Linked DNA regions of Homo sapiens: region 1 is linked to region 2. Evidence: promoter capture Hi-C in human tissues and cell types (Jung and others, 2019). All regions are on one chromosome and are shown on one strand. Each heading gives the region's core, a stretch centred on a gene start or on the middle of the fragment in contact. The rest is flanking DNA. Distances are from core to core; before and after follow the strand shown. Region 1 overlaps QDPR (quinoid dihydropteridine reductase). Region 2 holds the start of TAPT1 (transmembrane anterior posterior transformation 1).

Region 1 (5,068 bases), core at 1-2,500, 1.3 Mb before region 2:
GAACTGTGCACGTTGGACTTCTCTTAAGGCTCTGCCACTTACTGTGACACGTTCGGCAAGTTACTTCGCCTTTCTGAGTCTGCGTTTTGTCATCTGTAAAATAAGATAAAATAGTGTCTCCTTTATATATATGGTGGTTGTACCTTGTAAATGTCTCAATGGATCTAAATGGATGAGAAAGGTATTACAGAGAGTCAATAGTAAGTGTGAGCCATTATTATTATTTACTCCAGGCTTATTTCTGCCCAGCTGTTCTGCCTCAGATGTTAATGAATTTGTTCATCTTTAACCTCTTAAGTTAGATTTTGTTAAGCTATTAATAATTTGAGTCATGAGATCTTTTAAGTATGCTGCAGACCTCAGAAAAATCTGGGGAAATAGATCTACAATTTGAAAGTAAATGATGAATCAGGCTTAGTAGTCCCTCAAACTCAAGAAGATTTGTTTGCACATCAGAAGTTTTTCACTTGGAAGGATACTGAGAAAACCTCACCCTCCTATTTCCAAGTTTGTATTTCTAGACTGTCTTCTGTAGGACAAACAGTATTAAAATGGTGTTCACTTTTGTTTACCATTAAAGGATCTGTGCTGTGATTGGAAATCAGTTTTGGGGGACCACACTGATCATTCAGTAATTTGGAAGTGTTGACCTTCTTAGTGAAATGTCTTTTTTTTCATATCTTGCAAATAACCCCTTTTGTGTCCCCAAGGAAAGGTCATTCTTTAGAATTAAGCCATTACGGTTGCTATTTGCTTGTTTCTTTCCTTTGTCAGAGTCCCTGCTCTTGTGTTGTGTTGTTCGAATGGAGTCAAGAGAGAGCTCTGGGATTTTGAGGACCAGGGCTGGGTTAATGAGCACTTATGCCCTGGTTTATTTTAATCACTGAAGAGTTTGTTATGCCCCCTGATTAAACAGAGAAGCTAAGGATGGCGAAATATTCTTCTTGTGCTTCCAAATAGCTCTTTGAGACCTTGACCCTCTTTTGCAATTTGAGGTAGTTGTTGAAGCAGTTTTGTGATTGGTCCCTTGGCTGGGCTGTCATCCCCCCACCTCCCGCTGGACTTGCGATGCCTCCACAGCAATTACATCTTAAACAGTGTGTGTGCCGAGGATTTTAGGGAGCCTGATGACCTCTAGAAGAAATAGTGGTTTTCAGAAGGTGGAGAAGTTTACAGTGACTCATCATTCCTTCTTGCTATCATTATTCTGTGATAGCAGCATTTAGTGAGCAGCTACAGTTGGGCACAGTGGGGGAACATAAAGAGGAAAGACTCCATTCCTGCCACATGCCTGCGGGGCAGAGGGAAACCTACCTTAATAAAAGACATCCCTTGCTTCTGTCAGCAAATATCCATCGAATAGTGGGAGGAAAGGAAGACCAATAGGTAGCAGGTATACACAATGTCAAAATTTGCTCAAATGGTACACCCTAAATGTGTTTAAGTTTATTGTGTTTCAGTTATACCTCAACAGACTTGGCGAAAAAGAAAGAAATATTTTTAGGCATCTGTCTTCTGGGTGCTTGGCTTGTTGGGCTAAGCTTGATCTTATTTCATCACCAGAGGTATCTGTAAAGTAGGTCCTATTATTTTCCCTTGATTATGGAGGAAAAAAAGTTCAGTGATTTTAGGTGCCTTGTCTAAGACAACCTAGCTAGTTAGTAGCAGATTGGTCTGAGTAATACATTGATCAGTAATTAATATATAATTATAATCAGTAATTATAGCAATTACTGATAATATAATTATATAGAGATAATATAATTATATTCAGAGCCTCCTCCGGCAGCAAGGGTGCGGGTGGTGTGAGTGTGAGACCGGGCTACATTACGGTCTAAGCGGAGTGCTCTTGGTGGGGGTGAGTCCACCTCTGAAAAGGTTTTGTTGAGGGAGCTGATTCAAACAGGGTCTTGGAAAAGGACTTGCTTTGACAAATAGAGCTTATGGGAAAAGACAAGGCACTGTATTAGTTTTTATTTAAATAATTTAATCAGTTTTTAAATTGGAAAACTAACCAATGCATGTAGTAAAAATTCACATGGCACTAAAAGAAACACAATGAATAGGAAGACTCTCTCCTACTCACACCGCTGATCTCTATGGCACTCCCTCCCAGGCCCAACTACAGTGATGGCTTCTCAGGTGTCCTTTGGGAAGCATTCTGTGCCCATTCTAGTGTGTGCCCATGTCACATTCACATACTTTTTAAAAAGCACCATAATTTGGCAGGGCGCGATGGCTCATGCCTGTAATCCCAGCACTTTGGGAGGCCACAGCGGGTGGTTCACCTGAGTTCGAGACCAGCCTGGCCAACATGGTCAAACCCCATCTCTACTAAAAAATACAAAAATAACCAGCTGTTGTGGCAGTCACCTGTAATCCCAGCTACTCAGGAGGCTGAGGCAGGAGAATCGCTTGAACCTGGGAGGCGGTGGTTGCAGTGAGCCGAGATTGCGCCACTGCACTCCAGTCTGGGTGACAGAGTGAGACTCTGTCTCCAAACAAACAAAAAAAGAGGCTGAGGTGGGAGGATTGCTTGAGCCCTGGAGGTGAAGGATGCAGTGAGCTGAGATTGCACCATTGCACTCTAGCCTGGGCAACAGAGTAAGCTTGTCTCAAAAAAAAAAAAAGAAAAGCACCATAATTTGATGACTCGATAGAGGCTTTTCCATGCCTTATTCTTTTCACTTCATCATAGATTAAATAATTTAAAAGTTAGTTTGTCTGGAATATTGAGAAACTCACGAGTTACTGAGAATCACCTACCATAGTTTTAATGAACAGAGCTACCAGTTTGTTCTTTTTTTTTTTTTTTTTTTTTTTTTTTTTTGAGACAGTTTTGCCCTTATTGCCCAGGCTGGAGTGCAATGGCGCAATCTTGGCTCACCGCAACGTCTGACTCCTGGTTCAAGCAATTCTGCTGCCTCAGCCTCTGGAGCAGCTGGGATTACAGGCATGCATCACCACCCCCAGCTAACTTTGTATTTTTAGTAGAGACGGAGTTTCCCCACGTTGGTCAGGCTGGTCTTGAACTTCTGACCTCAGGTGATCCACCTGCCTTGGCCTCCCAAAGTGCTGGGATTACAGGCGTGAGCCACCGCACCTGGCCCCAGTTTGTTTTTTCATTCCCACAGTTTTTGAGTGGCCACCATTTGATTAAGCCCCATTATCCTCCTTTGAGAAACCCACCTATTGCTCTTTTCTGAAAGCAGTGAATAAAGTATTTATTTATTTATTTATTTATTTATTTTCCTTTTTTTTGGAGATATGGTCTGGCTCTGTCACCCAGGCTGGAGTGCAGTGGCGTGATCTTGGCTCACTGCAGCCTCGACCTCCCGGGGGCTCCAGCCGTCTTTCCACCTCAGCCTACCGGGTAGCTGAGACTACAGGCGCTCGCCATCACACCTGGCTAATTTCTGTATTTTTTGTGGAGACAGGGTTTCACCATGTTGCCCAGGCTGGTTTCAAACTCCTGGGCTCAAGAGATCCACTTGCCGCAGCCTCCCAAAGTGCTAGGATTACAAGCCTGAACTACCTCACCTGGCCAAATAAAGTATTTATTGATTGCCACCTTTTGGTTTGGGATACATTGGTGAACAAAACAATAAAAATCCCTGCCTCTGTGGAACTTACATTCTTCTGGGAATGAAAGAGCCCTTTCGAGTTTATGAGATGTGTCACGTTTCATGTCGTTTTCAGGAAAGCCTATTTAGCTTAGCATTGGATCCCATTTAGCAGGGAAGAACCAGAGGCTGAAAGAGCTGCTCGCCCAAGTCACAGTGGTGAGGAATCACCTGGGTTCCAACCCCTGGCCTCGAAGTCCAGATTCTGGGTTCTTTCTGGTGTGCTGTGCCGTTCCTGGGAGCCAGGGAGCTGCCTTGTGCTTCTTCGTCTTTCTAACACTGAGCCTAGGGATTCCCACATAGAAGAGGCTCCATGACATGGGGTGGGGTAAGTGGGTTTTGATGCCCGGGAGCAGGCAGACCCTGGCAGCCCCTTTCCAGGCTCTGGCTTTACAGGCAGCAGAGTGATGGCAGGTTGGTTTGATGGTGTTAAGGCCAGAGTTGTCACCATCCCCGTCATGCCACAGTCCTTCCACTGCTGATAAGGAAGGAAATGCCCCGGATGGGCCGCAGATGACTGCTTGATCTGGAGAGGAATCATCTATGATAATATGAATAATGATGAGCTGGGAGAGTGGGAGAAGCATCACCCCCTCCCTGCCGCAGTCACTGGGAGAACATCTCCCTGGCAAGGTGCTGAGCAAAGCCCCTCCTACACCAGGCTGGGCTCCCTCCGCCCTGATCGGGTTCTGTGCGTGCCCTCCATGGTTTCCAAGGCCCTTGTTGGATGCAGTCTCCTTCCATCCTCAGCAGAGCCTTGTGAATAAATTGTGATCTGAGTTACCACTCCCACTGACAGATGGAAAAGCAGGCCCACAGAACCTGTGATTTTTTTTGGTGGCTGGAAAAACAGGAGTTAGGGCTGCACTTTTTGAATTCCAAGTTGATGACCCTTTTTGCAATTCCTTATTGCTGTCCGAGGAAAAAGAGTTGCCAGTGACCTGCTGAGAGTCATGAATGACAATAATGGCCAGGATTGAGTGTTCCTCTGTGCTCAGTACTGTACAAAGGGGATTTGTTAACCTGGAAAAAAAACAATCAATGGAGTTTTATTACTTGACATAATTAAGGAGGATGCTGGAAGTATTCTCCAAAGCAGCGTCTCTCCCAGGAGGGTTTCATGGGGTGATGGAGAGGGGAAAGGGTGTGTCATTGCATGTGGAGGAGGGGTCCCAGTGGCACAGATGCAGTGAGTCATCACGCCAGCACATAGTCACATGTTCTGGTGATGAAGCTGTAGCTCCTCCCGGGTGGAGACTGTAGCATGGTAATGAGGAAAGTCCACTTGGGATCATCTCTATAAGTTGCTGGTTTCACCTGACTTGGTGACTGCATTCCATGCAAGTTGTGGGAAAAACCAGGCTGAAGGGCAGGAGCCTGTGAAACAGGCTGATTGTTCAAGCTGATGAAACTCCTATAGTCCTTGGAGACCCTCCCTGTCTGCT
Region 2 (5,258 bases), core at 285-2,784:
TTTGTCGGGAGTATTTGTTTTCAATTGTTTCAGTGAGGCTCAGTTTTGACCACATGCAACCAAAATAGAGAATTTCATGGAGGATGGTCACAGGATTGGCTTAGAAAAATGTAATCCTGTGAGCTGTCCCCTTTCATAAATAATAAGGTTCCGACGGCTGCACCGAATGTTCCTCCTTTCAACGAGGTTGGGCCGAGGTTGGGCTCCCAGCTGCTGGGACATTTTTAGTCCATCTTGGACTCTCACCTCTGCCTCCTGCTCAGCTGTCAGAATGCCAGGCGGCTCTGCAGCCCAAAGCCCACTCCGTTTTAAACTTGCTCGTTTGCAATCACGTAACCCGCTACTGACGACAGAACCCTCAAGGCCCATTTATATGCGGTTCTCAAGTTTAGGTCTAGGGAAGTTTCCAGGAAGCTTAGTGTTCGGGGAGGAATTCGTTTTGCTTTTGCTAATCAAAGAGACACAAAAGCACAGCTGAGTCCCGAAGCTGGCACACGGGAAATCGAGGTACCACTGTCCCCTCACCGGAGCGCGCAACAATCACTTGGGGAGCGGGGAAAAGGTTTCCACCTTCCCCGAGCCTGGGGCACCTTCGCTCCCACCGCCCCAGCTGGTGGTGGTCTCGACACCACGCTCGTTGCGGGGTCACACGCCAGAGCTGGAAAGGGGAGGTCCAGCCCCAAGTAAAGCGACAAAGTAAGGACACAGTGGTGGCCAAGGGCTGTCTCCTAACCCCAGTCCCGAAAGACAGTGTGGAAAGTCCGCCGGCGCGCCAGCCCTTGAAACTCTGCCGGTCCGGCCGCGGCCCCTCCCCTGCGCGTCCCCACCTGTTGTGAAGCTGCCCAAGCTCCTTCTTGCCCAAATGCTTTGGAAACTGCCAAAGGACACTCAGAGGCCAGGGAATGTAACAGGCAAGCATAAATATGCAGAAGAGATGGAACCAAAATAGCGGGCAGGCAGGGCCGGCGCTCGTGGGGGTCGGTGATCTGGAGCCGGGCCCCCGCCGCCGCGGCCGCGCCAGCAGTGCCAAGACCTGGCGGGCGGCGCCGGCGCACTCCGGGCACCGAGTCTGCAAAAGAGGCCCTGAGCGGACCGCCGGACACCTCGCAGACTGCGGGCAGCGGTGGTGGCGGCCGCCTCTCCGGGGCTCCACGGCCGACCCGCCGCCCGCCGCCGCCATCCCCGGCCCGCTCCTGCCGGGTCCCCGACTCGAGCCCCGGAGGCGCCCGCTCTGCGGGACCGCGCAGCCCGGCTGCATGGAGCCCGGCGCGGTGCCCCGGCCGGCCGAGCCAGCCACGGCGCGAGAAACCGTCGCCCGCCACGGCGAGGGCAGGAAGAAGATGGCGGCTACCGTGGCGGCGGCGGCGGCGGCAGCGGCCTCACACGCGTCGCTGACGCCAATGGCTCGCGCCGGTCGGCGGGCCGCGGATGGCGGCGGCGGCGGCGGCGGCTCGGGCTCCGGCGAGGGGCGGGGCGAGGCGGGGAGGGGGCCGGCCGGAGGCAGAGGCTGGAGGGAGGCGGCGGGGACAGTTTGTTGTGCTCGGAACATGGCGGGCGTCGGCGACGCGGCCGCTCCGGGAGAAGGCGGCGGTGGCGGCGTGGACGGCCCGCAGCGGGACGGCCGCGGCGAGGCGGAGCAGCCGGGCGGCAGCGGCGGACAGGGGCCCCCGCCGGCGCCTCAGCTCACAGAGACGCTGGGCTTCTACGAGAGCGACCGGCGGCGGGAGAGGCGCCGGGGCCGCACAGGTGAGGCGGGCGGCGCTAGGCCGTGGCGGGCTCCGAGGGGCGGACTGGGGACCGAGGGCGGCGGGGGCGCCTTGGAACCCCGGCCCCCGAGCCGCGCGGCTGCCGTTGCCTCCCGGGGCTCCCCAGGCTGTGGGCGCGCGGAGCCGCCGAGGCTGCCGAGGCTCCGCGGCCGTTGACAGTTCCTCGGGCGGGTTGCGCGCGCAGCCCCGAGGCCCCCGCGGCCGCGCCAGGCCAGGTGTGCCCTAGAAGGGGTCTGCGGCCGGGAAAGTTCTGTCCGGGTCCTTGCATCGCCCTCGGAAGGTCTTAGGTTAGCGGGCATCTCCCACGTCTCGGAGCCCAAACGTGAGAAGCACACGGCTGATTTCTTAATTATATTCATGCCAAGGTGACTTTTTTTGTTCTGTATTTTAAGCAAACTTGAGCCATAGAAACCTGTTAACTTGCCCTGCAAGTAGATTTTTCACAGACAGCTGACGGTGTGGTAGTGACCATGAAGTTCAGTAGTTTTGCCCAGTACAGAAATATTTAACACTCCATAAAATGTTGCATCTGAACTTTTCCTGAACTGAAACTTATGCCAAAAAAATTACTAGATGAGAAAATGTGTACTTATGAATCCTACATTCAATGACCAGTTTTAAACGTATTGTTACAATGTTACAGTTTCTATAAGCTGTAGGTTTTTATTCTCATTTTAAAAGAATTTTTAAAACTTGCATTTGTATTCATATTGCAGTTACAGATTAGTTTTAAATGAAAAAAGGTTTTGAGATGGATGTCTTCTTGAATATAGAGTGAACCCAACGTTTTAATTCTCAAGCTGTAAACAGCAACTGAACCATAACTCCATTAAATTTCTTCCAACTAAAAAATTACTTCTGTTGTCCAAAAGGGGCTGTGTTAGCCGTTATTTCCTGAAGTTCATGCAAATAACTAAGTTGTGAGGCTGATTACATCATTGATTGTACTTGAGTACTGAAATTTTAAAACTACTTAAGGGGCATAAAGTTGATCAGATGCGATTCTAATTGATTTGCTGATTCCCAGAACTGGACGTAGGTTCTATTTGAAGCAGTCTATATTTTTGGAAAATTACAGACGGTCTTGTTTGGTCTTTTTCAATTAACCACTTAAAAATTCTCAACCATACTTTATTTGGTTTAGTTCTCAGTTAAACATTTGCTTTCAAGAGTATTTACTTTCTTCATTGGCAGGATCTCAGTAAGACAAAATAGCAAATCTCTCAACTGTCTGTTTACTTACTTAGACTTGAATATTAAAAGCACTCTGTTGTAAATAGAGATAGATGTAGCCAGGCTTCACTATACTTTCTTTAAAACATTTCTCAGTTGCAGGAAAGCCACCATTTTAAAAGCCTTTTTTTGTTGTTTGCGTGGAGAGGAAATGAAGTTGTTTGAAGCCTATTGATGAGCACAGATCTTGAGCTTGCAGTATCACTTAACACTTCTTCCCTGGCTTTTTCTGGGACTGGATACCTGGACTTCCATGGACTTCATTATACCACGTATCCATTCTTCACCAACATGGTTCACCATGTTTAAGGCTGGATTTTTTTTAACCCATAGTTGCAGGAAGTCATTATCAGGGAGATGCCTCCAGGTTTAGCTGTTGGGGTAGTCCTTGTTCTTTCCCCAGTTCCATTGATTTTGTGTGAGGAGATGTCAGTGGCCACTCCTGCTTTACCAAGTCACACTAGCCTTGGCGATCAGGATTTAGGTGAGAATTCCAAATTCCAGGAGTATTTCAGCTGGAGCCACTGGCCAGTGTTCTCTCTGAGCCTCCACATAAGCCCCTCCTTCTTTTCCCCTGGTGTCCCTGCTCTGCTAGTCACATAGCTCCTGCCACTGCTAGCACCCAGTCTGTAGCTCCGATAACCATATTTGTTAGAGGTTTCCCCACTAGAAACAATTATTTTAGTCCTTCTTCAATGCCCAGGCTGCTAAGTCTAGCGCTGCCCTCTTCCCCTGCTCTGTAATCCTTCCTTCCCCTCCTTTTAAGAATTTTTAAAAACGATTCCCTAGGAGCTGGCCTGGGTCAGAGGGCCTTTGAGTGGCAGCACCTGGAGTCATTTGGATAGCATTTCTCCCTGAATCAAACTAGTCCTCCACGGCTAGATGCTCGGACTTAAGGTATTACTTGTTGATTTTTTTATATTCTTGTGTGCCTCTGAGAGTCTAGCACCACTGCCCTTGAGATCTAGATCCCCCTGCAAGTTAAGGCAACCTTTGGCTTTTCTTTTTGAAAGTCATAATCTTAGTGTCTTGGTGGCTGAACCATCAGTCAGTTCCAAAGTTCCCTTTATCATTTCTCACAAGGAATTTAGGGCTCCTACAGGTAAGACATTTGTTGATCAGTCCCAACAGCCTAGAATTCCCTAAATGAATGTACATATTAGGTACTTATCCAAACTCTTTCCATCTGAATAAAATAAAACGTGGTGTCTGAGGTTCATTTTTTGTTTTATATCTCTCCTTGTTGATTTATATGTTTAGAAACTAGATATGTATATTTGTCTGTATGAATAGCTGTATATGCTCTATATTGTATTATACTAAACATGTGTCTCCATTAAGTCTAAGCTTTCTTTTCCTCATCACTTCGTTCTCAGAACTCCCGTTCTGACTTATATTTAGCCTGGCAATAGGCTGACGCATGTCTCAGATGCGAGTACTTACACCTTTTAACATAGTTAGAATTGGGAATCCCACTCATCATTCCTGTTTTTATTTGCTCTCTCAGAATGGTCATTGTGTATTTCCTTGTTGCATATGTGGTTACTGGCCTTGAACTCTGGATGTAGTGGTTATCAAGAACTGCAGATTGATCTCTTCTGTATTTTCTTCCTGTCCTTGAAAATACTACCAACTTCTGTTGTTCCTTTTGACATAAAACCAAATAATCAATGTTATGTTTTTGTGCTTGTTCCCCACTTGATTCATCTGCAGAAGTCCTAGGTAGGAGAGTTTCTGTATAGCCATATTTTTATTTAGGAATCTAAGTACAGCAAATCAACTTTGGACTAAGCATTAGGAAATCTGTGTTTTTGGCTTGGTTGGGTTGTTGAATTGCTTTGTAAACTCTGTGCTTGCTTAGACTGCTTGCCTAATCAGTTTGGTTCTGTTTCATAATGCCACTACTAGATAGTTCAGTATCTGAAGCATCTAGGTTGCTTCTAGTCACCATGGAGACTTAACAGAAGGCTTGGTGTAAATAAGGGTAGCACCTGTGAGGGTAGCACAGGTGAAACAGTACCTGTGTAATGCAGGTGTTGGAGATGCATGGGGATAGGTATTGCTTGTAAAACAAGAAAGCCTGAAGTCGGGTATAGGTGAACATATTGTTTCTACTGGTAACAGTGCCATGGACCCATTTCTTTCTTCTTTAACAGTGACTCTGGACTTCTAAAACTTCAACTTATTATCCATCTCTTTTGCCTCTCTCCTCTCCCTTTAACCATGGTTAGACCTCTTCTTGCTTCACCTCTGTTAGAG

What was found. The method cuts DNA at HindIII sites, captures the fragments that hold promoters and counts their contacts. A contact is called where the count stands out against the background at its distance.
Region 1: a contact is called between a fragment that was not itself captured here and the fragment with the promoter of TAPT1 in region 2, in 1 of the 25 tissues and cell types used here (dorsolateral prefrontal cortex).

The regions. Positions count from the first base shown.
Region 1 is chr4:17,494,205-17,499,272 of GRCh38, reverse strand. All of the region lies in intron 4 of QDPR (quinoid dihydropteridine reductase), which reads left to right. Among named protein-coding and RNA genes, the nearest start is that of QDPR, 15 kb to the left of the region's middle. RefSeq lists an enhancer at 4,773-5,067. The HindIII fragment of the contact is 5,887 bases long and covers 1-4,193 here.
Region 2 is chr4:16,222,747-16,228,004 of GRCh38, reverse strand. TAPT1 (transmembrane anterior posterior transformation 1) reads left to right here and starts at 1,534. Exons shown (of 14, transcript NM_153365.3): 1 at 1,534-1,746. The coding sequence starts at 1,548. TAPT1-AS1 (TAPT1 antisense RNA 1) reads right to left here and starts at 1,342. Exons shown (of 3, transcript NR_027697.1): 1 at 828-1,342. RefSeq lists an enhancer at 422-481 and silencers at 992-1,191, 1,252-1,321, 1,332-1,431, 1,442-1,491, 1,602-1,981. The HindIII fragment of the contact is 8,869 bases long and covers 1-5,258 here.